Regions from separate parts of the Homo sapiens genome. Here regions 2, 3, 4, 5, 6 and 7 are each linked to region 1. Evidence: promoter capture Hi-C in 16 types of primary human blood cells and fetal thymus (Javierre and others, 2016). All regions are on one chromosome and are shown on one strand. Each heading gives the region's core, a stretch centred on a gene start or on the middle of the fragment in contact. The rest is flanking DNA. Distances are from core to core; before and after follow the strand shown. Region 1 holds the start of CHD7 (chromodomain helicase DNA binding protein 7). Region 2 holds the start of YTHDF3 (YTH N6-methyladenosine RNA binding protein F3). Region 3 has its middle 3.8 kb from the start of UBXN2B. Region 4 holds the start of SDCBP (syndecan binding protein). Region 5 overlaps SDCBP (syndecan binding protein). Region 6 overlaps NSMAF (neutral sphingomyelinase activation associated factor). Region 7 has its middle 8.8 kb from the start of NSMAF.

What was found. Contacts are between HindIII fragments. The CHiCAGO score rates a contact against its expected background, and 5 or more counts as called.
Region 2: a contact is called between a fragment that was not itself captured here and the fragment with the promoter of CHD7 in region 1, in 3 of 17 cell types (naive CD8 T cells, neutrophils and naive CD4 T cells). The highest score is 7.5, in naive CD8 T cells.
Region 3: a fragment that was not itself captured here is called in contact with the fragment with the promoter of CHD7 in region 1 in 1 of 17 cell types (non-activated CD4 T cells); the score reaches 6.4 in non-activated CD4 T cells.
Region 4: the fragment with the promoter of SDCBP here is called in contact with the fragment with the promoter of CHD7 in region 1 in 1 of 17 cell types (non-activated CD4 T cells); the score reaches 6.0 in non-activated CD4 T cells.
Region 5: a fragment that was not itself captured here is called in contact with the fragment with the promoter of CHD7 in region 1 in 2 of 17 cell types (non-activated CD4 T cells and naive CD8 T cells); the score reaches 7.9 in non-activated CD4 T cells.
Region 6: a contact is called between a fragment that was not itself captured here and the fragment with the promoter of CHD7 in region 1, in 1 of 17 cell types (activated CD4 T cells). The highest score is 6.5, in activated CD4 T cells.
Region 7: a fragment that was not itself captured here is called in contact with the fragment with the promoter of CHD7 in region 1 in 1 of 17 cell types (naive CD8 T cells); the score reaches 5.2 in naive CD8 T cells.

The regions. Positions count from the first base shown.
Region 1 is chr8:60,676,610-60,680,470 of GRCh38, reverse strand. It overlaps CHD7 (chromodomain helicase DNA binding protein 7), which reads right to left and starts at 1,731. Exons shown (of 38, transcript NM_017780.4): 1 at 1,389-1,731. RefSeq lists silencers at 254-623, 1,284-1,383, 1,744-2,183. The HindIII fragment of the contact is 9,178 bases long and covers 1-3,840 here.
Region 2 is chr8:63,167,374-63,171,234 of GRCh38, reverse strand. YTHDF3 (YTH N6-methyladenosine RNA binding protein F3) reads right to left here and starts at 2,614. Exons shown (of 5, transcript NM_152758.6): 1 at 2,334-2,614; 2 at 1,824-1,848. The coding sequence starts at 2,357. YTHDF3-DT (YTHDF3 divergent transcript) reads left to right here and starts at 2,793. Exons shown (of 1, transcript NR_102684.1): 1 at 2,793-3,510. RefSeq lists a silencer at 2,012-2,251 and enhancers at 2,332-2,651, 2,852-3,071. The HindIII fragment of the contact is 4,463 bases long and covers 1-3,861 here.
Region 3 is chr8:58,405,652-58,409,512 of GRCh38, reverse strand. No RefSeq gene overlaps it. Among named protein-coding and RNA genes, the nearest start is that of UBXN2B, 3.8 kb to the left of the region's middle. The HindIII fragment of the contact is 1,117 bases long and covers 1,482-2,598 here.
Region 4 is chr8:58,551,237-58,555,097 of GRCh38, reverse strand. SDCBP (syndecan binding protein) reads right to left here and starts at 1,837. Exons shown (of 9, transcript NM_005625.4): 1 at 1,795-1,837. RefSeq lists a silencer at 1,455-1,984 and enhancers at 1,461-2,178, 2,085-2,264. The HindIII fragment of the contact is 12,216 bases long and covers 1-3,861 here.
Region 5 is chr8:58,567,160-58,571,020 of GRCh38, reverse strand. SDCBP (syndecan binding protein) reads right to left here. Exons shown (of 9, transcript NM_005625.4): 3 at 56-134. Among named protein-coding and RNA genes, the nearest start is that of SDCBP, 16 kb to the right of the region's middle. The HindIII fragment of the contact is 1,298 bases long and covers 1,106-2,403 here.
Region 6 is chr8:58,646,388-58,650,248 of GRCh38, reverse strand. The region is part of intron 1 of NSMAF (neutral sphingomyelinase activation associated factor); the gene reads left to right. Among named protein-coding and RNA genes, the nearest start is that of NSMAF, 12 kb to the left of the region's middle. The HindIII fragment of the contact is 1,418 bases long and covers 1,505-2,922 here.
Region 7 is chr8:58,666,773-58,670,633 of GRCh38, reverse strand. No RefSeq gene overlaps it. Among named protein-coding and RNA genes, the nearest start is that of NSMAF, 8.8 kb to the right of the region's middle. RefSeq lists an enhancer at 689-1,376. The HindIII fragment of the contact is 5,273 bases long and covers 1-3,861 here.

The sequences.
Region 1 (3,861 bases), core at 482-2,981:
CAGAGCCTCCCGACCAGCGCCCCCACCCCCGCCCGGGAGCCGCCGCCGCCGCCGCCCCCGCCCCCCCCCCCCGCGACCTCGACAGCCCCGCGCCGCCGCGCCCGCCCCGCACCGCAGCCCAGCCGGTGCCCGCGCCCCCGCCCGAGCCCCGCGCCCCCAGCGAGCCCAATCCCCGGTGCGAACCAAACAAACAACGCGTCCCCCACCGCCCTCCTTTCCTCTCCCCGCTGACCGCTTGGCCTCCAGCCACCTCGGCCGTTCACGCTCCAAGCCGCGGCTCTCTGCGAGGGCAGAGCGCACCCGGGTCACCTCGGGGGCCACCTGGTGACCACCCCCCACCGGCGCTGACCCCCGGCGGGTTGGGGGGCGGGGGAGCCGAGTTGCGTTGGAAGGTTAAAGTCGCTATTATGCAGCTGCCGCCGCCGGCGGCCCGGCCAGCTCGACAAGGTGGGGTCCCCTCCTCGCCGCGCCTCCCGGCGCTCGCCCCGGCCCCGCTCCCTTTCTTCTCCTCCTAGCGCACTTGGGAGCCGCCGGGGAGCCCCAGGAGCCCCCAACTCCGGGCTCGCAACTCCGCGCCCGCGACCGGCACTGGCTGAGCTCGGGACGCCTCCCGCGCCGCGTGTTCGCGCTGCCCCCGCCCCACGCGGCGCCCCGCGCACTTTCCCCGCCGCCGACCCACCTCGCTCGGTGGCGGTCCCCGCGCGGGCTGGCGCCGCCGCGCCGGGAGGAACGCACTTTGTTCGCGCCGGTGCGGCCGCAGCTCCCGGCGAGCGCGGCGTGGTCGGTCCGGAGCGGGGGGCGGGGGCGGGAGGCGGGGGTCGCCGCCGTCCCCGAGCCGCCGCCGCCGCTGCTCAGCCGCCCCGCGCCCGCGCGCCCATCGCCCGCTCGCACTTGAGTTGGAGCCCAACTTTTCCTCCTTCCTTTTTCTCTCGAATGGAGCCGGCAACTCGTGCTCGGCGCCGGCGGGAGGAAACGCGCTCGCGCTCCCCCGCGCGCAGACACGCTCCCTCCTGTCCCCCGTACCCCCCCCCCACGCCGGCAGCACAACAAAAAGCCATTTACATGCGAGGAAGTGACCCTCGGCCGCACCGCGCGCCCCCGCCGCCGCCGGCCCGGCGGACGCAGGCAAAAGTTGGGGCGCCGGGCGGCGCTCGGGGCGCGGGTTCGGGCCCCGCGGGCGGCGACGCCGGCGACACTACGCGGGCGGCGCTGCGCTCCTGCGCTGGCCCCGGCCCCCTCCCGCCCTCGCCCCTCGCCCCTCGCCCCGCACACGCCCAACTCCTCGCTCCCAACTCCTAGCGCGGCCCCGGCCCCGGCCCGGAGCGATTTCCTGCCGCCGCCGCCGCCGCCGCCCCTCCCGGGGGCGCCGGGCGAACTCTCGCGCTCACCGGGTCGGTCGGGCTCCTCCGCTGCCTAGTGCCGAGGGGAAAACAAAACGCAGAGCGGGCTCCGGAGTTGGCTCGGCAGCTGCGGCCAGGGGGCTGAATCCACGGGCACGGAGTTGGCCGGGGGCGAACGGGTCTCTGGTGAGTTTCAGGGTGTCCGGGTCCCCGGGCCGCCTCCTCCGCGGCGCTCCTTTGTGTAATTTCACTCGATTCAAGTTTAATCCGATAGTTCCCGAGCACGAGCGCGTCCGCACCACCACGACTCAACCCCCGCGCCGCCGCCGCCGCCGCCGCTGCCGCCGCCGCCGCCGCCGCCGCCGCGGCCCCAGCACGCCAGCGCCTGCGCGCGTCCGGCACGCCGCGCGCACCCGAAGCCGCGGGGCCGCGCGCGCCCGCCGCCAGCTCCCTCCGGGCCGCGCCGCGCCCGCGCCCGCGCCCGCGCGCCGCCACCTGACGTCAGGCGCGCCTGGCATAATTTATGCAAGAATTCGGCCGGGGTGGCGGAGGCCGAGGGAGAGGCCGAGAGAAAAGGGGCGGCGCGGAGCTGCTGGGCCGCGGGCCGCGGGCCGCAAGGGCGGGCCGGGCGCCACTTCCCGTCCCCTGGCGGGCGCCGGCGCTTCAGGCGGGTCTCCCCGCCGGCCGGTGCGCTGCTGCCGCGGAGTCTTCCTTGCCCGGCTGCACGGAGCGCTCGGCCGCTGCGCCCGGGCGCGGACTGGAGGGGCTGCTGCCACGTCTCCCGCGCGGCACCTTCCCGGAGCCGGGTGCGCCGCCCCGGGGCAGGAAGCGGGGCTCCGGGAGGGCTGCGACCCTCCTGGCTGCCGCGAAGGGTTTCCGACGCTGCGCGGCCGGCGGCGGCCGGGGGTGACTGGCAGTCTCTGCAGTAATTATCCTTCAACTTGAAATTATTTTCCCACATGAAATTATTCGGAAGGGACATGTTCCATTCCAGATGGGTTCGTGCCTGCTTCTCCACATCGCTTTTCCCACCTCTTCGTGGATAGGACACCGGATCCACTACTTAATCAAAAAGTTTAACTAGATGGCATTGATTTTGTCGAATTTGTTACCATACCAAAAAAGAGAGAGAAGGCAGAGAGCTCAATGATTATGAAACAAAGAAATAGGATGTATGCCCATTATTAAACGTGTCGGGACTAGAATGTTTTACTCATTCTTTGGCCAAAATGGCACTTGTATCTGATTGCATAGTCTTAAAAATCCGAGCCTCTTATTCCATTTCTCTTCCCGGTACAAAATGAATGTTAAACCTGAAGAAAAAAAACTTTTTTTTACTAATTTTTATTTTAGGAAATAGATCTACAAACATGGATTAAGCCTCTTCTATCTGCAAAATACGGAGCAATTATAATGTGTTTAAACCATCAATTGTAAACTTTAAGATAATTTTATTAGGTTAAAGATTGCACTTATTTTAAAATCAGGAAAGGAACTCATATCAACCAAAGATTGCCCTATGGCAGGTACAGACTGACTGGTTATTACTGGACTCCAAAATAAACTGAGAAAATAGCAAAACTATGTAAAATGTACTAATCTCACTCACTGATGGTTACACTACCTGTAGTGCTAAGCCTGTAATCACAATATTGTTATTTGGACAAAAGATTAATCAAAACTATCTCATTAAGTAACTACTGCAACTATTCAATAAGTTTGATTATCCTAGACTTAATCACTAAGACATTGATTTTCTGATTTTAGTAATAATTCTATAAATATATCACATTATATTGTGGTTTGTTAAATGCACTGCTTTTAGCTTGCTTTCATCATGTATTTGAGTTTTGTTCTAAAAGAAATAAATGTTTTAATGTTTAAGGAGCTTACAGATCATCAAAAAGAACATAGAAGACAGTACAGAAAGAATTCTGGCATTTAAAAAGTTGAAACCACTAAAATCAACTTCCATCTGTTTTAAACCCGGTATCACAAACCAAGAATCACAACTCTGAGGTTAGGCTACTGTTTCCATTAAGTTTATATTTCCCAATGAAAGTATATGAAAGGTGCTTTAGGGGTGTGTGGGGCGGGGGGGTCAAAAACAGGACACAATGTCTAGAAAAAAAATCGCTAGTACCTGACTATATTAGAACACATTTTTAAAATAATGTGCCATAAAAAATTATGTCTTATCTTTTACAGTGTGCCACAGCTCGATATCAGATGTGCATCTATTTCAAGGCAATTCACAGGAGAAAAAAAATGACATCTACATATAGTGAAATTACAATATTGCAATTAACTTGTTATCAACAAATATGACTATGAGGAGATTCCCTGTGCTCTTGTACATTTAACTCGAAAGCTAGGAAACTTCCTTTTGATATATACCAGTACCCAATGTAAAAACAGTCCTACAGAATATAAGTCCTCTGACTTATAGTCTCCTTATCCTGATCACTGCCCTGAGCCATCATGAAGAAGTCTCTAAGCTTTTAGATGTTGTGGTGGTGTG
Region 2 (3,861 bases), core at 578-3,077, 2.5 Mb before region 1:
AGCTCACTTGGCAAGTCAGTAGCCAAAGGCAGTATTAGAACTCAGGACTCCAAGGAATCCCAATCCATTATTCTAACCTTAGATGAAATTATTAAACTGAACAACAAGGGGGAAAGAAAGAAAATTTCTTGAGAATAAAGAACTATCAAAATAAACACTTTGTGTATGTGTCTGAATACAACTAACAGAAGCGATACTGATGGATAAAAATTTTTGAAATAACCAAAAAATACTTATTTGCAAACAGTGGATGTATTATGCAGTTTATAGATAACTCAACTCATATCTAATATCAAAGATGCCACCAGTGCCTACCTAAGTGAAATGACCACTCATAAATCAAACTTATTTTACTGACTTACAGTGCTGTAGAGGCTCTATTTTGTTTTAACAAACAAGTACCTCATAGAACTTGTGTACTTACCTTAAAGCGGGTAACATAAAACACTTAGCATTTCAAATAGCTTTGCAAAGTGCCACCTCCCCACAGATCTAGGATAAAATAATTTATGCTAGGCAATAATGACCACAATTTCACAATCTCCAAGTCTACATAGTTCCTAATGGGTAGACTAGCAAAAGAAGAAATTAATGGATCATTCTTTTTAAAATTCACAAATTTTTAAAAACTCATTTAAAATAAATCAATATCCAATTTTTATTTCAGGTTTATGCTTACAACAAAAAAAATTCTAGAAATGAAATTTTAAAAATTAAAATGTCTAAATATTTACATACTGCAAGAAAACATCTTTAATGAAAACAAACAAAATGTTACCTAATATGGTGCCATGTAACTGGTATGTACAAATTCCATAATTCAGAGGAAACTAATCTACATATCCAAAACCTATTAAATTCACCAAATTTGCAATAGCAAATAAATACCCTAACAAGAATTTAAAGGGCACCAAAGACAATCTATATCTAAAAGGCTATTATAGATCTTAATTTCTAACACTGTGTTACTGAAATCAACAGAAAGCATAATTTTAGTGTAATTTCAAGCACTACAAAATGTTATATATAATTTGCTCTGATGTTATTTAATTGGCACTATCCCAAGAAAGCAGTTATTGTTCTATACTTAACTAAATGTCACATGACTAATGTCATAATGTTTCAGTCAGCTGACTGCACTGTTCCATATTAATACAAAACACACTTTTTAAAAAAACACTTTACTTTCAATGGTACTTTTACTAAAGAGAAAATTATAAAATCCTGGAAAAAATGTCACAAACTATTTTCTTCTCAGCCCTTTATAAAATACCAGATAGAGTCACACCTTGCAATCAGAACAATAGAGCAAGATGGCATGCCTACTCAGTTCTAACCTCTCTCATGTTGTTGCCTCATTACAACTGACTTCAATAGAATCAGTGATTAACAGTACAATTTTCATTAATGTGATGGAATACTATGTAGACTTCCATTTTCCAGTGTAATCCAGACATGTCAAACAAAATGTCCACTTTAAGAATATACTTGTCTATATACACATGTAGAAATTTTTTGTGGCATAAGTTACATAACACAGAAAAACTGGAAAACCAAAGAAATACCACCAGGTTCACACCAATACCTGCTTAACTGACAAGGAAACTGTTTCTCGTACTACTTTGGTTTCTATAAAGTGGCTTCAAAGCAACGAACTACCGAAGTTCTGGATAGAACTTGGCTACCTTAGCCATGATGAATATTTTCCCTAATCCTACATTTTTTCCCAAGAGGGAGCAAAAACAAACAAAATACCCTCACAGAGTTTAAAAGTAACATTAAGGCAACATTGAGCAATAAGAAAAAAAAAAATCCAAACTCACCTTTATTTCCTTGCCCTTTAGGTCTCTGTGTTGCAAGACGAAAGATGCGGTAAAGAGGAGAAAAAGGAAGAAAAGAAAAAGTGTGTTAATCAAAGGCATTATCAAAGACAAGTTATTTTAGACTATCCGCGTAGGAGTAAAAACCCACCATATCCTCCACAGCCACCAATTTCCCAACCACCCCCAGCCTTTAAACCTCCCACCCGCCACTCGGAATCCGTCTCCCAGAGCTCGCCCGGTCTCCGCCCCATGTCTGCCGCCCTCAGGATCTGTCCTAAGGCCCCTAAGACCGGTCCTTGCCCCCACCCGCCGCGGCACCGCGCCCGCCCGCCCGCAAGCTACGGGGCCAGGGCGCACGCCCCGGCCCGGGTAGCTACACCGCAGCAACTTGCGCCCGGGGCACCGTTATGGGGCCGGCAGCGGCGGCGACGGGGAGGAGCCGAAGCCCCGCGCGAGGGTGGAGCTCCGGGGCTCGGGCCTTCGCCAAGCCTGGGGCCTCTGCTCCCTCACCTGATCCACGCTAGTGGCTGACATTCTTCACCGCAACCCGAGAGCCGCCGCCGCCGCCGCTGCCTGGGCCTCTCCCCGTGCACTCACAGCAGTTGGCTGTCGCCCTTGGCCGAGTGATTGTTCCAGCCGCCGCCGCTGCCGCCGTTCGCTGAGAACCCAAAATGAGGGCCTCGCGCTCGGGAGTCGGAGGAAGAGGCCCGTCTTTTCCGCTTGCACGCTCCTCTTCCCCCTCTCGCTCTCTGCTTCTCGGGTCCACAATGGCGGACAGACTCCCTAGTCTCACTTCCGCTCCGAGCCTCCCTGACCTTCCGCTCTCCACTCTGACGTCCGCGCTCACCTCGCTCTTCCTCCCCCACCCTCCCGCCGCTGATCTTGGCTCCGCCTCCTCACCGCCACGTCACCGGAGACCGGACCCGCGCTCACGGCCGGTGGGCGCATGCGTCATGGAGGGAGCGCGTCGGGGCGTCAGCGAGCGCCAACTTTCAGCGTCTTTTCTGCGGCTTCCTTCTATCCCGCTCCGAGGCTGCAGGGCCCTGGCAGAGTGGCGTCAGCTGGAAGGCTGGCCAGAGCCGGATTTTGTTGCACTCCGGGCAGGAAGATGGCCGAGGCGGCGGCTGACGGAGATAGTAGTGCCTTGCTGAAGTCACGGCGGCCGGCGGCGCCCTCCTGGAGGCTGACGGGACGGAGGCAGGGAACTTCCCGGTGAGCCAGCCGGGCCTAGCAGGAGCCTTCGGCGGCTGCCCAAAGCCGTGGGGACGGCTGGCTGACTCAGCCGCTCTCTGGACGGAGTTGCTGGGTCCCCACAAGCCTGCCCGTGCAGCTGAAGTGGCAGGTTAGAGTTGTGGTACTCAAACTTAAGTCCAAGCAAACAGGAGGAGCACCGGCGCGGGTTCAGTCTTTCCAAACCCAGTTCAGCCGTAATCTCTGGAGTCAGACTTCGCCGCCCAATTCATGGATTTGTGCTTTTGACTCCGCTCTGATGTTTTTGAATGAATAAAGTTGCCTAGGATACTTAAGTATAGTTGCAGAGCGTCTTTTCGGCCCTGAAAAGAGGGAAAGTTTCCATTGAAAAAGTTCTTTATCACATATTGGCAAACCCAAAGTATGCCAATTTGCAACGTGTTGACATTTTCATTGAAATATCTACAATAAAGGCAAAGATTCCTTGTCTCAGTGATACAGAGTCCATGGAAGGAAATAATTTAAATGACCAAATACTTTCTGTACTTCAAAAACCATCAAATAAGTGATCATTTAGAAAGTAAAATTGTAGAATCATAAGATTAATTTTGTGGTTTACAGTGCAACAGTATCTTAGAAGCACTGAATAATAGAAAAACTTGAGAGGCCACTTTTCATGTAAATCACCAAGAGGCATTTTTAAGTTCTGGTTAGACAGTTTCCCTTGCCCTTCCATTCATTGCCACGGGTCCCAACCTAAGCACCCTTGCATTTCCCAAGACTCCCCCAACCCTTTCTGCTGTTGCTCTCAATGTCTCCCATCCTTCACTCCCAAACAGACCGTTTT
Region 3 (3,861 bases), core at 791-3,290, 2.3 Mb after region 1:
CCTTTTCTTCCTGAAAGCAGGAAAAGAAACTACCATGTGATAGATGCCCTCCCTATACCAAGAGGAAAGATACTCATCACCAGAGAAGGGGAGTTGAGGCCGAGAAACATCTGTACAGATATTGTTAAACTAACCAGTATCTTCCTAGATACTCTTCCACGATTGCCTCTCTTTGTTCAACCTAGTATATAAGCACTTAGGCCTAGCCACTTCTTCGGGTGTTTATTTTCCTGTGAGGACACCCACTTATACGTAAAGTTTTATTAAATAAAATTTGTATGCTTTTTCCCTGTTAATCTGTTTTGTGTCCGTTTAATTCTTGGACCCAGCTGGAGACTCTGAGAGAGTAAAGGAGAAAATTTTCTCCCCCAGCTGTGCATTCCCTGTGTAATTTCATTTATCCCTCTACCAGGTAGTTATGATTATCTTGTTATACCCGAGGAAACCAGATGATGAAGACTAACTTCACCCTGTAGTAAATGGCAGTGCCAAATACTAAACTGCACTTGTTTTCCTGATACTCTCTTAACATCAGATTCTGCCCTAGAAATCTCGGGCTCTTTAACAAGAAATGCCTCATAGAGCCAAAGACATTTTAGCTGAGTGTTGAAGGAAAGTACTTCCAGTAGAAGTATTAGACCAGAAAGAATCTTGGTAAAGGCAAAGATATTTACAAAGACACTGATATTTAAAATATTATATTCATGTCAGCAAATTGCTATATGGTTGCAACTTAGAAATGACAAAAGATGGTTATGGAATGGTGGGGAGGAGACAGATGTAGAATGGAGGCTTGAGACAGATTCTGAAGGATCTTGCCTTAGGTTGGGGATGGAATCCTCTGAGCCAGTGATTCTCTAACATTCTTGTACATTAGAATCACCTCTTCTCTCTCGTCTCCAGGTACTCAGATTTATTAATAATTGGTATAGAGTGGGAGTCAGGCATCATATTTCTTAAGATGTTCGCAAAGTGGATTTTGCTGCTGGCCATGACAGTATACCTGATGTTGGACTTGTCCTCCCACTCTTAACAACTAAAAACAACAGTTTTAAGGCATTGAGCAACAGGCAGTACAGGTCTGTGATATCTGAAAGAAGGAAAACGAACAAGGTGACTATATTTGCCCAGGCTCTTTATTTTTATTTATTTATTTTTTGAGATAGGGTTTCTCTCTGTTGTCCAGGCTGGAGTACAGTGGTGCAATCACGCCTCACTGCAGCCTCAATCTGTCTAGTTAGAGCAATCCTCCCACCTCAGCCTCCCGAGTAGCTGTTGCCTTGGCTTTCTGCATGGAACTCTCATACACTGCTAGTGGGTCCTAGAATGGTACAGCCACTTTGGAAAAGAGGTTGTCAGTTTCTTCTAATGTTAAATATTCCATTATCATAAGAACCAGCAATTCTACTCTTAAATATTGACCCAAGAGGGATATAAGTATACATTTATAAAGTATTTCAACTCAAATGTTCATAGAAGCTTTATCTGTAATAGCCTGTAAACTGGAAACAATCCAAATGTCCATCAGCCAATGAATGGATACAATTTTGATAAATCATACAATGGAATACTACTCAATAGTAAAAAGGAAGAAGTTATGGATTCACATGTCTTGAATGAATCTCAAAGATATTATCTTGGGTAAAAAAAGCCAGGTGCGAAAGAGTAAATATTGTCTGATTTAATTTATATGAAATTTTAGAACAGGCAACACCTTTAATGACTAAAAGCTGGTGGTAGCTTGGGGCTGTCTTTTGGAGTAAGGATTCAGTTCCCCAATTGTAGGACATGTAGGAACTTTTTGAGGTGACAGAAGTGTTTTATAACTTGATTGTGGTGGTAGTTACACAGGTATGTATTAATACGTTTGTTAAAAGCACACTGTATACACTTAAAATGCATGCATTTTATTATATGTAAATTATTCATTTATAAACTTGATTGAACAAAATCCTTGCTCAGCTGATTCTGTTGTGCAGCTATGTTTGAGAGACACTGCTCTAAGGCAACTGGGAGCCATTAAAGGATTTGTGATTTACAAAGATTACAGATGCATCAATGTGTATGATGAGTCAAAGTTAGGAAATAGATTATTACAACAATGGGAAGTAATTAGGACTCAATTTTTATCAGTGGCAGTGAGAACAGAAAGAAGCAATACTTGGTAGAAATATTAACGTCAGAACCGACAGGAGCTGGAGTCTTCAATGTGGAATACATGAAAAAAAGAGGAATAAAAAATGACATCTGGGGATTTGGCTAGGTGATTTGGCAAATGGTGCTACCCGTAAATTATTGAGTTGAAAGGGGGAAACAAATTTCAAAGGAAATAAACAAGTTTGTTATGGACATTTTGAGTTCAAAATGTATGTGGAACACTCTGGTGAAAATGCATCATGGAGCAATTGCAAATGTGGGTATAAAGATTAGAAGATTAGGCAAGAATTTTGGTTTGGACATACAGATTTGGGTGTTGACTGCATGTAAATGATAGAGTAGACAAGGCTTCGCAGGAGCAGTGTGAAATGTGAGAAGATTCGAGGATTAAGAACACTCACAAACACCAACATTGAAGAACTCAGTGGAAAAAGGAAAGCTTTCAATGTAGCCCTGAGTAATAGAGAGGTGAGAGGAACACAAGAGACTGGAAAAACTGGTGATGAGGCAGTTTCAACAGGCATACCAATGATGTCATTTACTACAGATAATCAAGAAAGATTAAGACTAAAAAGTATCCACTGGACTAAAGGAACAGGAGATGCTGTCCCAAAAGTTACTACCAATTTCATAGTTAGTGAGGAAAATCCATATTTTACTAGTTTCAGAGTGACAGATAGGATAGTGAAGGCTACATATTCAATGAACTTAATGTCAATGGTGTGCAGAAGTTGCCGTGCACTGGCTTATGAGAGCCTACTGTTAAATTTTTAGGAATTTTGCAAGGCAGTTGTTAAACAGGGATTATTAAAAATTAAATGATATAAATGTACAACTAAATTATACAAAAAACTCATGCAATAAATATTCAAATCTCTAATTTCCTAGTTATTTGAATACATTTTGCTATTATCTATGCTCCTGAGGGGATTTACATCTATTGGATCTATATGGTGGAGATGCTATTGCACACCTCTTCCCAATTCGCATTCAGTGACAACATGTTAGTAGCTTGAAATCTACCATGGTGTAAGTATTCCCACCTCAGAAATTGGTAAACGCCATAAATAAAAGTTCGATTTCTTGTTTTGTTGATTGCCCACTGGAGATTTAAGGATCTGTTGGAGAAAATGTTTACGAGGCAGATAAGACTTAAAAGTATGCTGTGCCTGCAGCTGTTATGCTGTGAATAGCAAAAGAAAAAAAATGTAAATTTTCCTCTAGTATTTGAAAATTACTAGCTGATTCCGGAAGAAGTTGCTCACGTTGTTGAGTTACTATGGGTGTTTGTGTTTCACTTGCATCTTATGTGTATCTTGTTAATGTGAACAAAAATATCAACAAACATTCAAGTGGTCGCCTTGAAGTCTCCTTTCTTTTGGCTTGTGATGAAAGTGATATCTTTCCCCATTCTTCTTCAAAGAACTACGACCACATACCTCACTCTCCTTGATTCTCTATTTTCTGTTCTCAAAGTGGGTGAGGAGGTTCAAGAATCATGACATTCATCGTCTTTGAAACATTCTCCAGGAGCATCTTTCTCACACCCATTTTGACCTATCATATATATTATGGGGTCCTTAAACTGGAAACTTAATGTTAAACATTTTATTATACTTATTTTCTCCTTCCATTAGACTAAGCTCATGGAGTATGTGGGCCAGGACTTCATCTCTAGTGCCTTAACACAGAACCTGGAACCAT
Region 4 (3,861 bases), core at 588-3,087, 2.1 Mb after region 1:
AAAAATAAGAGCAAAATGTGAAGCAGTATATAAAATGTTAACGTTTGTGTTAAAAGCAAGGAGGCAAATACAGCTTATATGTTTGCCTGTGTAGATATAAAATTTGCCTAGAATACCTAAGAAATGTAAAAAAGTTGCCTGCCTGCCAGAAGACTTGTTACTTTATACCTTTTTATGCTGCTTAAATTTTGAGACAAGTGACTGTTTACCTACTCAAAAACAATACATTTACAAAACATGTTGGCAGCACTTGAAAAGAAATTAATAAATGCTAACGTAACTATTGCTAAAAGTAGAAAGTATTTCAAAGTTATTTGGGGGCGCTTTTCTTTTTTAGAATCTCTTGGCATTTAATACCTATAAAAAGTTCCCAAATCTGGCAAAAACAGGGAAAATAGTTGTCACGCTCATTTTAAGAAACTCTTTAATTAAACAGTACATTTAACCGGCAACCATTAGCAAATTCTTCCCCTTTTGTTCATCTTTTTCCCCTTTTTACATCTTTTCCTATAATGCCCAAAACTAAAAGTTAATGTCTCCAAAGTTAAATTTAATTTATAATGGAGTGACTATTTACTGACCATTTTAAAAGTCATTCTACTTCTTTTTATTCTGTGCCACAAACCACTAGATTTATAATATTTATGTACCATTTAAGGCACAAATTTTATAGAATTAAGTTGGTAACACAGAAGACAAAAGGACGTATTTTCTACCGTTATCCCTCAATCTTAAACAGGAAAATAAAAAGACTGAACAAATTTGAGTTTTAACTAATCACATACACATTTAGAAATCAATTTAATTTAAAAGGCCCGCAGTTGTTTTTCAAGGTAAATTTCCTGCTTTAATCAACGATTTCTTTTTGAAACAAGCGGATGTTAAGAGTTTGGTAAGCCGAGCGTACTTTCTAAGCAATGTACGTAATGGAAAAGATAACAGTAAATGTGTATGTGGTTATACAGACTAGATAATCTACAAACTCCTTTCAAAAATGGACACATTAGAAGACTCCATGACTCAATAATCACCACTTTGGTAAAAGTGAAAACTTTCCACATCCATATGCCTTCCCTTTCCCATTATTACAAGGAAATCCTGAAAGGAAGGCTCTGAGTCATCATATCTCAGGGGTCAGATCTCAGGGGTATTTCCTTCTAAACACACCCTACTGGAAACGTTTCTCCCTCAGGTCCAACTTCTCCAGGAAAAAGCTCAAAGCGAACAACCTCTCCCCACCCCCTTCCAAAAAAGTCAAGGCTTCGCCCAATAAACAAACACTTCCTTCCTCCTTTCAAATCCAGGACTTTCCGAATAACCCAAAAGAAGGGCGATTAAGCACAGCCCTAGAAACGCCGAGCACTGGGAGGAACCGTGGCCAGAGGCTCTTTCTTATGTCGAGATCTTATCGAGGAGAAAACAAGGATCGAGAGACGGTCCCAGGAAGAACCCCAGAGCTGGGGCGGGGGCTGAAGGCGTTCACCCAGCCGGGCCTCCGGGCTCTGCCAGCCCCAGCCCCAGCCCCAGCCCCAGCCCCAGCCCGGGCAGGAACCCGAAACGCGCGGGGTCGCGGCAGGAAGAGCGCGCTGCTCCCGCAAACTTGCCCCCCCAGCCAGCAGGGCGCAGGGAGGGGCGCGGAGCCCCCTGAGGAGAGGGCGTCGCCGCTGCCTCGCGAAAACGGCTGCGACCAGGATGCAGTCTGTGAAGTGGCCCAGGGACCGTCACACCTCTGCCCCAAGTCCCCGCGCCCGGGACCTGGCACCGGCGTCCCTCCTTGCCCCCTTGGCCTCTCACCTAGCCCACAAGGAACCGCTCGCCGCCGCCGCCTCCGGTCACTGGCACGGACTTCTGAGGCCCGAGTGTAAGAGAGCGGTGCGCGCCCGAGGACCGCCCCCGAGGCGCGTCATGGCACCGCCCCCGCCTTCAGCCCGCGCAGTCGCACGGCGCCGGGTCGGGTGATCCCGTCCCCAAGGTAACGGGGCGGTAGGGGTAAAGAGGCCTGGGTGTGGGTCGTTCCTGCAGCTCCAGGTATCCGGCAAAGTGGGGCGGTTCATGCCGCCCGCTGTCCGCTGCCCGCTGCCCAGCGGTTATGCTCCCAGTCTTCTCCGCTCTTCGGCTGTTCGTGCCCGCGGGCCCCGTGCCACCCACTCACTACTGTGTGCATCGCAGCTCACGGTCGCTTGGTTCTCGTCGCCTCCAATTCAAAGAGGTCTCGGGAGCCCCTGTTCCCTCTTGGGATGCCTTCGACTTCCACCACTTGCTGCCCTAGTCTCACTCTCCGCTTGCTGTACCTCTCCACTATAGGCTCAGAAACGTTCCTCTCACGACCCCTTCTCAACTCCTGCTTTATTTTTCTGTTGGAAATTTGGATGTTGGGGGTGGGGGGCGTATTACTCTGTCCGCCTAAGCTAATATTCCTTCGCTATTGAGAGTTAGGTGTGGTGCTGCGCAAAAGTAATTGCTTCCCAGTAAAAAAACATAACGATCATTTCTTGAGGGCTGATTTTGTGCCAGCCATAGCTCTACGAACTTAATGTATAGTCTTATTTGGTCTTCACATCAGTCTATAAAGACATCCCATTACAGACAAAGAAACTGAGGCACAGTTTACCCAAGAGTAATCATAGTTACCACGGAATACTGTAGAGTCCTTGACAAAATAGCATTTACAAGCAGTTTATTTCTAGCTAAATTAGTGCCAGAATAATTTAATATATGGCAAAACTAATAAAAATCTGAGTGTAAAAGAGGTGACAACTAAAGATGAAAACTTTGCTCTCAGTAAGGTTATAGTTAGGCTGATGAAATGGACATTTAAAAATAATTACAAGGTAGATTGGGAAGGAAGAAATAAAACTTTTTGCTTTCAGATGAGATGGTTATCTAACATAGAAAATCCGGAAAAAATTGACACTCCTCGCCTAAAAAAACAGAATGAAAAGCAATTATAGCAAGTTTGCATGAGCAAGTTTAAAACAGGCTCATTCTAAGCCAAAATGCTTGGGACCAGAAATGTTTCCAATTTTGGATTTTTTTTTTTTTTGCTTTTGTAATATTTGCATTATATACTTATGGGTTTACCATCCCTACTCCAAAACTCAAAATGTTCCAGTGAACATTTCCCTTGGTCCTCATGTCAGCACTCAAAAAGTTTCATATTTTAGAGTAGTTCATATTTTGGATTTCTGTACTAGGAATAGTCGACCTGCATACATGGTCTGTTGTTTTCTTATATACCATCAATAAACAATTGGTATTTGAAATTAAAAACAATAACCACTGACATTAGCACCAAAATAAAATGAAATATTTAGGTATAAATCTAACAAAATATGTAAAAGGTTTATACAAGAAAAACTACAAAATTCTAAATAAAAAAAACTTCCAATGAGAAAAACTACAAAGTTCAAAGGAGATCTAAATAAATTTAAAGATATTCCATTTTCATGGATAGGAGTACTTGATATTTAACTGTCAGTTCTGCCCAACTTAATCTATAGATTTGATACAATCAAATCAAATCAATCAAAATCCCAGCAAGTTATTTTGTGGATATTAACTGATTCTCAAGTTTATATGGAAAAATGAAAGACCAGAAGAGCCAAACCAATACCAAAGGAGAGGAACAAAGTCAGAGGCCTAACAGTACCTTAGTTCAGGCTGTTGTAACAAATTGCCATAGATTGGGTGGCTTAAACGACAGAAATTTATTTCTCACATCTCTGAAGTCTGAGAAGCCCAAAATCAAGTTGCTGGCACATCTGGAAATCTGGTGAGGGCTCACTTTTGAGTGTGCAGATGGCATTCTTCCCATTGTATCCCCACATGGCAGAAAACAAGACAGATAAAGCACATTCTCTT
Region 5 (3,861 bases), core at 505-3,004, 2.1 Mb after region 1:
AAAGAAGATAACAATATTTCTGTTCACAGAGAATGAACTCAAAGTATAAACCTACTTCCATCGTGAGGGATAGGAGCAGAAGCTTCTGACAAAATTGCTGGATTGGCAGGGTTTGCAGAAAAAGCAGTTTGAGCCTGAAAAAGAAAAGAAGAAAATTCTAACAATATGCTATACTTACTTTATATTCTTATATAATTTATAAGCTAAATCCAGTACTTCCAAAAAGAAACTAAAACAATGAAGATTTATGTAAGAAAGTTTAATTTCAAACACATCAGCAATACATTTTCCAAAGGAAATCTGCAAATCAAAACTATATTTGATATTCTAAATACTTTTAAGGCTATCACAAAAAAATTGTAGAAGTACCATTCTACATGTCTTATAACCAGCACTTCATAGTGCTGCCACAATAAATTAATATTTTCAAAGTGCATTCTAAAATGAATAAATTTTACATTTTCATTATTCTTTTACTAATTAGTCCAAGTAAAAATATTTTATTTGCATAAGAAAAAACCTTACCCATATTCATATAAAAGTCACATATCAGAAAAACACCTAAAAAATTAATACTAAGCATGTCCCACTGAAATCATCTTTATCTTCATTGCAGCAAGTATAGGAAGGGGTTTATGCTAAATACTTTTAAAATATCAGAAATTATGAAAATAGCACAGTTTATCACTGACATAAATCGATGATGACAAGGTAATGTAATTTGTAACTGTTAAACAAACTTGCCAAAATCACTCTGACACACTCTGACACTCTAGCATTTATCAATGCTACTCATGCTCAAGTATCCTCTTCTCAGGGCTGTCTTGATGGCCTACATCATATGAAGTATCTCACTGATGGAAATACTTTATCCTTTACAATTAGATCTGACTTTCTGAAATAGCTATATGTCATTAGAGACAAGTTTGGTAATAAGTTGTATGACCAATCTCTACCAACTTTTTACTTTATTGGAAATGTATCATTTTAAAAATGAAGTTCATAGTAGTATCTCAACCTAGCCCTAAAATCAATGTCAAGAGTATTCCCAAAGATGCTTGGAGATATGAAAGCTTAGTTTAAATAAGTAAAGCCTATGAAAGCTTTGAATGGTACTAAAATTATATGTTCTGATATACTTGTTGAGTCATCCTTTAATATTTATTATTTCATAATTTGTTAAACATTCTAGATTTAAACAAAATACAGCATGAAAATCTTTATAATTATAAATAACAATCCACAAATTGAACATGTGTTGAACTTTGAAAGTTCTTTCACCACCGATTAGCTAAAAGGAGCTAGTGGCTTGTTATATTACTTCTTGAATCATGTCTAACAAAAAAAATACTGTGCGGCACTGGGAAAAAAAAAAGAACTATAAAGACATGAAAAGACATGGAGGAAACTTAAGTGGATATTACTAAGTGAAAGAAGCCAATCTCAAAAGGCTACATACTTTATGATTCCAACTATACGACATTTTGAAAAATGCAAAATTGTGGAGATAATAAAATATTAGGCCAGGCACAGTGGCTGAGGCCTTTAATCCCAGCACTTTGGGAAGCTGAAGCTGGAGAGTTGCTTGAGGCCTGGAGTTCAAGACCAGCCTGGGCAACATAGGAAAACCCTGCCTATGCAAAAAATTGTTTTGGCCAGGCACAGTGGCTCATGCCTGTAATCCCAGCACTTTGGTAGGCTGAGGTGGGCAGATCACCTGAAGTCAGGAGTTCAACTGACCAACATGGCATGTTGTCATGTTTGTCATGGCCAACATGGCAAAACCCTGTCTCTAGTAAACATACAAAAATTAGCCGGGCATGGTGGTGGATGCCTGTTAATTCCAGCTACCCGGGAGGCTGAGGCAGGGAGAATTGCTTGAACCCAGGAGGAGGAGGTTGCAGTGAGCCAAGATCGCACCACTGCACTCCAGCCTGGTGACAGAGCCAGACTCCGTTTTGGGGGAAAAAAAAATTTTCTTTTTAAACTAGCTAGGTGTGGTGGTGCATGCCTGTAGTCCCAGCTACTTAGAAGGCTGTGGCAGGAGGATGGACGCTGCAGTGAACCATGACTGTGCCACTGTACTCCAGCCTGGGCAACAGAGCGACATCCTGACGCTAAAGAAAACACAAAAGCAAAAGCAAATTATTGGTTGCCAGGAGTTTCTAGAAGGGAAGGAAGAACAGGCATTAAAGAATTTTTCGAGCAGTGAACCTATTCTGTCTAATGCTACAATGGTATACAGTCATGTGCTGCCTGTTCTGGTCAATGATGAACCACATATACAATAGTGGTCCCATGAGATTATAAAAGAGCTAAAAAATTCCTACTGTCTAGTGACATCATAGCTGCCGTCACACAGAACAACTCATTACTTTGTGGTGATGGTGGTGTAAATAAGCTTACTGCACTGCCAGTCATATATAAAAAAGTATAGCATCTACAATTATGCATGGTACATAATACTTGATAATAATAAATGACTATGTTACTCATTTATGTATTTCCTGTGTTATACCCTTTAGAGTATATCCTTCTACTTACAAAAAAAGTTAACTGTAAAACAGTCTCAGGCAGGTCCTTCAGGAGGTATTCCAGAAGGCACTATTACCATTGGAAATGACAACTCCATGCATGTTACTGCCTCTGAAGACCTTTCAGTGGGATGATGTGGAGGTGGAAGACAGTGATATTGATGATCCTGACCCTGTGCAGGCCTAGGCTAATGTGAGTGTGTGTCTCAGTTTTTAACAAACTTACAAGCGATTTTTAAAAACTAAAAATTTAAAAAATAGGAAAAAAGCTTATAGAATCAGGATATAAAGAAAGAAAATATTTTATACAGCTGTACAATGTTTGTGTTTTAAACTATGTTATTACAAGAGTCAGAAAGTTAAAAAATTAAAGTTACAGGAAGCTAAGGTTAATTTATAATTCGAGAAAGAAAAATTTTTAAATAAATTTAGTGCAGCCCAAGTATAGAGTATTGATAAAGTCTACAGCAGTATACAATAATGTCCTAGGCCTCACATTCACTCACCGCTCACTCACTGACTTACCCAGCGCAACTTCTAGTCCTGGAAGCTCCATTCATGGTAAGTGCCTTATACAGATGTACCATTTTAAATCTTTTACATTGTATTTTTACCATACCTTTTCTGTGTTTAGATACACAAATACTATTGTGTAACAATTGCCTACAGTATTCAGTACAGTAACATGCAGTATTACTGTATCATACAGGTGGGATCATACAGGTTTGTAGCATAGGAACAACAGACTATACCATACTGCCTAGATGTGTAGTAGGCTATGCCATCTACATTTGTGGAAGTACACTCTATAATGTTTGCACGACAAAACTGTCTAATGAGGCATTTCTCAGAACATATCCGTCTTTAAGCAACACATGACTATATACACGTCACTATACATTTGTCAAAATCCACAGAACATATAACACCAACAGTGAACCCTAATGTGATGTAATGTAAATATGTAGACTTCAGGTGATATTAATGAGCCAGATGTACTGCTCTGGTGCAGATGCTGATACTGGGGGAGGTTGTGCATGTGTGAGGACAGAAGGTATACTGTACTTTCTGATCAATTTTGTTGTGAATCTAAAATTGCTCTAAAACACAGCTTATTAATTTAAAATACTTCTCCTTTGTATGTAGTTATGAATTTCTGTTCTTTCATTGCTATTGTTTTTAATCCAAGGAATACTGAAGAATACATATAGAAAGCTCCCTGCAAAGTTAAATTTAATTATGTTATTTGCAGTAAAAATGAAACAAAAGGATGTAACCCAATTTTAAGTACTGTAAACCATTAAATGTAGCTACTTATTTCAAACTT
Region 6 (3,861 bases), core at 964-3,463, 2.0 Mb after region 1:
TAGGAAGTACTGGGCTGCTGCCTAGGCCTAGCCTGGTACCAGGTGTAACATTGATTTATGACAGGGAAAGCTCTTATTTTGTACTCTATTAATAATACTAATCTTCAGACTGAAAGAGGATGAACTTTCGCAAGATGGGTGAAGATGCAAATGGTACCCAAGTGCTTATGTCTCCTGGCGTAAAATCCTGGGAGAGTTTGAGTGTAGAACCACAGAATTATTTCAATGATCTAGGAACTTTGAAAGGTGCTGAAAGAACATGTGTGCATAAATAGGTTTAATGCAAATTCTAGATCAGACAGATTATTTATAAACCACTAGAAGAGGAAGTTGTTGTCACCAGTCCCCAGCATGAACGTCATGCTGCTAATTCAAGAGAGGTTTAATGGGCTCACAGTTCTGCAGGCTGTACAGGAAAGAAGGATGGCACTGGCATGTGCTTGGCTTCTGGTGAAGCCTCAGGGAGCTTTTACTCATGGTGGAAGGTGAAGTGGGAGCAGGTACATCACATGGCAAGAGAGGGAGCAAGAGAGAGGAGGAGGAGGCTCTGGACTCTTTTAAACAACCACAACCGGATCTCATGTGAACTAACTGAGCATGAACTCACTTATTACCAAGGGGATGGTGCTGAGGCATTCATGAGGGATCTGCCCCCATGATCAGGTCACCTCCCACTGGACCCTACTTTCAACATTGGTAATTCCATATTAACATGAGATTCGGAGGGGACAAACATCCGAACTATATCATTCTGCCCCTGGCCCCCTAAATCTCATGTTCTTCTTACATTGGAAAATACAATCATTTCTTCCCAATAGTCCCCCAAAGTGTTAACTTATTTCAACATCAAGTCCAAAGTCCTAAGTCTCATCTTACACCTATCTCTTTCCACCTATGAGCCTGTAAAATCAAAACAGTTGATCTACTTTCAAGATACAATGGTGGTACAGGCATTGGGTAAACATTCCCATTCAAAAGAGAGAAATCTGCCAAAAGAAAGGGGCAGTAGGCCTCACTGAAGTCTGAAACCCAGTAGGGCAGTCATTAAATCTTAAAACTCCACAATAATCTCCTATGACTCCTTGTCCCACACCCAGGGCCAGCAGTGTAAGAAGTGGGCTCCTAAGGCCTTAGGCAGCTCTGCCTCTGTGGCTTTGAAGGGTGCAGCCCACTTGGCTGCTTTCACAGGTTGGAGTTGAGTGCCAGCAACTTTTCCATGCTGAGGTTGCAAGTTGCTGATGGCTCTACCATTGTTGAGTCTAGAGGGCAGGTGGCCCCCTTCTCATAACTCCACTTGGTGGGGACTATATATGGGGACTCCAGCCCACTTTTCCCCTTCATACTACTGTCGTAGACGTTCTCTGTATGGGCCCCATCCTTGTAGCAGGCTTCTGCCCGGGATTCCAGGCCTTTTCACACATCCTCTGAAATCTAGGGGTAAGCTGCCAAGGCTCCTTCATGCTTGCATTCTGTGCACCTGCACACCTAACACCACATGGAAGCTTCCAAGGCTAATGTCTTGCACCCTTTGGAGCAGCAGCATGAGCTGTACTTGTGGGCCTTTGAGCCATGGCTGGAGGTGGAACAGTGGGTCTGCAGGAAGCAGTGTCCCTAGGCTGTATGGGGTAGTGGGAAGCTGGGCTTGGCCCCCTAAGCCCTTCTTTCCTCTCCTAGGCCCTCTGTGATGGGAGGGACATCCTGAAAACTTCTGAAATGACTTTGAGGCCTTCCCCATTGTTTTGGATATTAGCCCTTGGCAACCTTTTAGTCATGCTCATCTCTCTAGCATGCAATTATTCCATAGCTTACTCCATAGCCGGCTTGAATTCCTCTCCTGAAAATGCTTTTTCTTTCTCTACCACATGGCCGGGCTACAAATTTCCCAGAGTTTTATGTTCTGCTTTCCTTTTAAGTGTAAGTTCCAACTTTAAGTCATTTATTTGTTCCTGTATCTGATTGTTGGCTTTTAGAAGCAGCCAGACCAGTTCTGAAACCCTTTGCTGCTTAGAAATTTCTTCCGCCACATACCCTACCTAAGTCCTTACTCTTAAGTTCAACCTTCCACAGATCCCTAGAACATGGACACAAATGCAGCCAAGTTCTTTGCTAGTTTGTAACAAGGGCGACCTTTGTTTCAGTTCCCATTCATTTCCTCATTTCCATCTGAGACCGTGTCAGCCTGACCTTCACTGTCCATATTCCTATCTGTATTTTGGTCACAACCATTTAACCAGTCTCTGAGAAGTTTCAAACTTTCCCTTGTCTTCCTGGTCTCTTCTGAGTCCCCCAAACTCTTCCAGCTTCTGCCTGTTACCCTGTTCCAAAGCTGCTTCCATGTCTTTACGTATATCCATAATAAAATGCCCTACTCCCTGGTGCCAATTTTATGTCTTAGTCTGTTTTTGTTTTGCTATAAAGAAATTCCTGAGGCTGCGTAATTTACAATGGAAAGAGGCTTAGTTGGCTCATGGTTCTGCAGGCTGTACAGGAAGCAAGGCACCAGCATCTGCTTGGTTTCTGGTAAGCCTCAGGGAGCTTTTACTATGGCAGAAAGTGAGTGGGAGCAGGTGTATCCCATGGCAAGAGACAGAGCAAGAGAGAGAAAGGGAAGTTCCCAGACCCTTTTAAACAACCAGAGCTTGAGTGAACAGATTGTGAACTCATTTATCACCAAGGGGATGGTGCTGAGTCATGAGGGATCTACCCCCATGATCCAATCACCTCCTACCGGGCCTCCACCTTCAACGTTGGGAATCACATTTCAACATGACATATGGAGAGGACAGAACATCCAAACTATATCACTGTCCAGTGTATTACTGGGGGGATGTTTCCAATGGTGGGTAGTAGGACTGCGATCTTGCCTTGTCTATAACAGTTTTCTTAATTTCTTCTTTATTTCAGAAATCATTTTCAGAAGCTTCTTAAAAATGGTCCGTTTAATTAAATCAACTCTCTAGTAGGGGCACTGTAGTCTAGCTTCATTCAAGGCTGGTGTTGGGGTATTGAGAGTAGAGGTGGCAAATACACAGCACTCCTGTGCTTTCCTTTGCCTCTGCACACATCACGAAAGTGTCATGGCATCACAGCACTTCCTCCCAATAAGTTTGGGTTACACTTCTTATCACAGTGAAGCCTGTTAGAGAAAGCATTGACTAACAAAACCTTCTGGATCCACTGTAAATACTGTTCATCAGCTGAGTGTTGAATAATTGTTGAGTGGAATGCAAGGTTACTCCAGCTATTTTAAGTTCTAGTTAAGTGTTGTACAGTAGGCTTTAAAATTTAGGTGATGTAAGAATAGGAAAACATCTTTTTAGGAATGTTGAGTTGCTCAATGAGGAAACTTCTCTAAAGAGAATGAAACCACACCTCTGTAAAGGAGGATTAAACTAGGAATATGTAGGGGCAGGGCTAAGAGTCTTCTAAAGAAATAATTTACAGTCAGATACAATACCAAAGGATGAGACCATCCAATTACAAAACGGTGATTTTAATTTTTTTTTTTAAGCATGGACTCTTTTACTCCGTAAAATGTAGTTTGAAAATCATTGTTCTAAAAATCATGCAACTTAATTATAATAATTTTTACATAGAAAAATTTTAAAGCGGGTATAACAACACTTTAGTAAAAAGAAAACATAGACTCAGAAAAGTTTCATAATCCTTTACTTCAAACAATATGATTTGGTTATATCCCTTCACTGTGTGTTTTACATTTCTTGCAAAATATGCATATTGATAAATTAAGGAGGCTATAATTAATTCACTTACCAAAATGACTTTAGTTCTAAAATAGCTGATATGATTATATTTTAATAATTATATGGAAGAATTGTCTCTGAAGGCTACTTGTGCATC
Region 7 (3,861 bases), core at 921-3,420, 2.0 Mb after region 1:
GAGTATAGGCAAGTCCTGGAATATCCCCAAAACACTGAGGGAAAACTTATACAGAAGTCTCCCCATATGTGTGAGGAATACCTTCTGAGGTCCCCAGTGGCTGCCAGAAACCTCAGATAGTACCGAACCCTATACACACTATGTTTTTCCATCTGATAACTGAGGTGGCTACTAAGTGTGTAAAGGGCAGGGAACATCTGTGGCATGGAGATGCTGGACAAAGGGAGGACTCACATCCCCGGTGGGACAGAGCCAGACAGCAACAGAGAGCATGCAATTTCATCATGCTACTCAGAACACCTAGCAATTTAAAATGCATGAATTGTTTATTTCTGAAATTTTCCATTTAATATTTTTGGCCTGCTGTTGACTGCAGGTAACTGAAACTGCAGAAAGTGAAACTGTGAATAAGGGGCACTTCTATATTCTTTGGGAAATACGTAGGAGTATAAAGAAGAAAACATAATCTCTGTATTCAGAAATAACTGCTATAAACACTTGCTAAATTTTTAGTACACTTAAGATATGTTGAGATAATATAAAATATATCATTTCCAAATATTTCACAAATTCATTGTAGTCATTTCCCTAAGTAATTAAATCTTCTTTAGAAACAGGATTTTAAATGACCACATATTATTTTACTGAATAGATAACAATTTACTTAACCATTGACCTCTTAGTAGAAACTGGATTACTGTTGGTTGTTTGTTTTTGTTTTTTTAACCGAGACTAGGTAGCAGGTATCTAGAGGTTCCCTTGATTGTCTCTCTTAGTTCACATGACTTCCCCAAATCCAAGACTGATGAGGGAAATGAAACGTTCTGTTGCCCAGGCTGGAGTGCAGTGACACGATTTTGGCTTACTGCAACCTCTGCCTCCCAGGTTAAAGCAATTCTCCTGCCTCAACCTCCCAAGAAGCTGGGATTACGGGCACACACCAACACACCCAGCACATTTTTGTATTCTTAGTGGAGACAGGGTTTCATCATGTTGGCCAGGCTGGTTTCGAACTCTTGACCTAGTGATCTGACCCCCTCGGCCTCCCAAAGTGGTATGAATACAGGCATAAGCCACCGCGCCCAGCCCTACTGTTGGTTTTTAACTGATTAAACATAAAACTGGGACAGACACTGTGGCTCACGCCTGTAATCTCAGCACTTTGACAGGCCAAGGCAGGAGGATCACTTGAGCCCAGGAATCCAAGAGACCAGCCTGGGCAATGTAGAAAGACTCTGTCTGTACAAGTTTTTTTTGTTTTTTTTTTTTTTTTAGCTGGGTGTGGTGGTGCTTACCTGTACTCCCAGCTACCCAGAAGGCTGAGGTCAAAGAATTGCTTCAGCCCGGGAGGCAGAGGTTGCAATGAGTTGAGATCATGCCACTGCACTCTAGCCTGGGCAACAGAGAGAGACCTTGTGTCAAAAAACAAAAACAAAACAAAAACAAATTTTGTTGAATCCTGTGATATATTTAAATTGCCTTCCAGAAGAGCCAGTTCACCTGTATACATCTCTTCCCAGCTCTGCATTCAGTGATTTCACGTTGGTAACATGAAATTGGCCATAGTGGGGGTATTTTACACGACAGAAATTGGCAAACACTCCAAATCAGCCTGTTTTCTTCCAACTTGCTGGTTACTAAACATTTACCAGTTTACACTAGAGAAATTTACCAATTTTACTTCCATCAATAGTGTTTAAGCACTTCAGCACTGGACACGACCATTGACAGTACTGATATTTGTCACATCGATATCTGAAAATAGTATCTCATTTTGTTGTAATTTTCACTTACTTTTTATGAAGTTGACATTTCTGTATTTTAGGGCATACAATGTATGTATATCTTAAAATTATGGTTTTATTTATAATTTCCTGTTTATCTTCTAACCTAATCTATACTAATCTCCGATTAGCAACATGCAGAGTAAAAACATTGCTGGATTTATAAAGTACAAGGGAGAAGATCTTAAATGAGGGATGACTTCAGCAATTACCCTAATCTTTACCCAAGCAAGGAAGATAAACTGTGCAGGTGACAGATAACAGATGCCCTCTGGAAGCTGTATAGAACCCATGGAGGAAAAATTGATGCCAATATGGGCATATACAGCTCCTATTTAATTTTTTCCCACTGGACATAAAAAACAGAACCTCAGAAACAGTATTAACTGCATGGGAAAAATCATCTAAAAAAATCCTCTTAAAAAAATGTGAGGTCTTATTCCTCCATTAATTTCAACACTAACTCACATGCCCAGATAACTATGAAAGGGAGAAGAGGAGGCTTGCACCGGCATTGCCAAAATGAGAAAACATAAGTGATTACACGCAATGTCTGCTGTGACTTAAATGTCTCAAATCTCATTACTGCCCCAGGACCTGCTCCTACTCACACACGCATTTTCATTTGTCTTTCCACCCCTTTCTTACTTAACTCATGTACTTTGGGGAATGCTAACTTCTACCTCCAATTCTAGAGATGGCCCAGAGTCTCAGAGAATGTTTCATTTCCCTCATCAGTCTTGGATTTGGGGAAGTCATGTGAACTAATAGGGACAATCAAGGGAGTCTCTAGATACTTGCTAGCCAGCCTGGGCTGGATGAGGTCTCTCACCCTGAGGGAGAAAGTAGGCAGCTGGCCAAATACCAGAAGCTACCTATTACCAGCCATAGGGGAAGGGAACCAGACTTAGAAGGCAGCTAACTATGCGGAAGGCCTAACAGAAAGATGATGAAAAACTGTGTCTCTGATGAACTTATTGAGCCACTGGATTAACGAACATTGATGTATACGATACTTCGGATTTCCAGGTACCTGAGCTACAAATTCCTGTGATGGCTAATTTTGTGTGTCAACTTGACTGGTCCATGGGGTCAGATGTTTGGTTAAACATTATTGTGGGTATGTCTGTGGGGGAGGTTCCTTTTGAGTTGGTGGACTGAGTAAGGCATACAGCCCTCCCAATGTAGAGAGGCCTCAAACAATCTATTGGAGGCCTGAATAGGACACAAAAGTGGAGTAAGAGAGAATAATCTCTCTTTGCCTGACTGTCTTTGAGCTGGGGCATTGTTCTTCTGCCTCTGGGCTTGGGATGAGACTGGAGATTATACAACGGGCTCTCCTGGTTTTCAGGTTCTTGGGCTCAGACTTGGATATATACATTCCAGACTCCTATATATAAACTCCTATTAGTTCTGTTTCTCTGGAGAACCCAGACTCATACAATTCCCTTTGTTATTTAAGCAAAATGTGCAAGAGGAAAGAGCTGATCACAGTTCTATCTAAATTTTCCTGCTGTCCATGTAAGTTTTGAGCTTCTTTCAGGCTTGTAACGCAGTGGTCAAACTTTAAAATGTAAAACATATCATGTCATTTTCCTGCTCTTACCCCTCCAGTGGCCTGTGTCACACATTAATAAAAATAATAAGAAAAAATCCAGTGCTCACCTTTGTCCTGTGGTCTGGGCCCTGCTGCCTCTATCTCTCACCGTTAGTGTGCTCTAGACACTAAAGTGCTGGCTCAGGCTGTTGACCTTGCTATTCCTTCTACCTGGAATGCCTTTTCTCAGGATCTGCACATTCAAGTTTCTTAATTCATTTAGTTGTCAGCTGAAATATCAGTGATCAGAGGAGACTTCTCTGACCCCCTATCTAAAGAAGTTCTCACCCTCTTCATGCTCTATTCCTTACTGTGGTTCAGTTTTTCTTGTGATACTTATCCTTACCTAAATTTACATTATTCACTTTTTAAATAGTCACTCTTACCAGAAGGTAAGTTCCAAAAGGGCAAGGACTTCATATCATTTATGGCTGAGTCTCTAGTACCTAGAACATTTCCTGGCATACAATAAATAGTCAA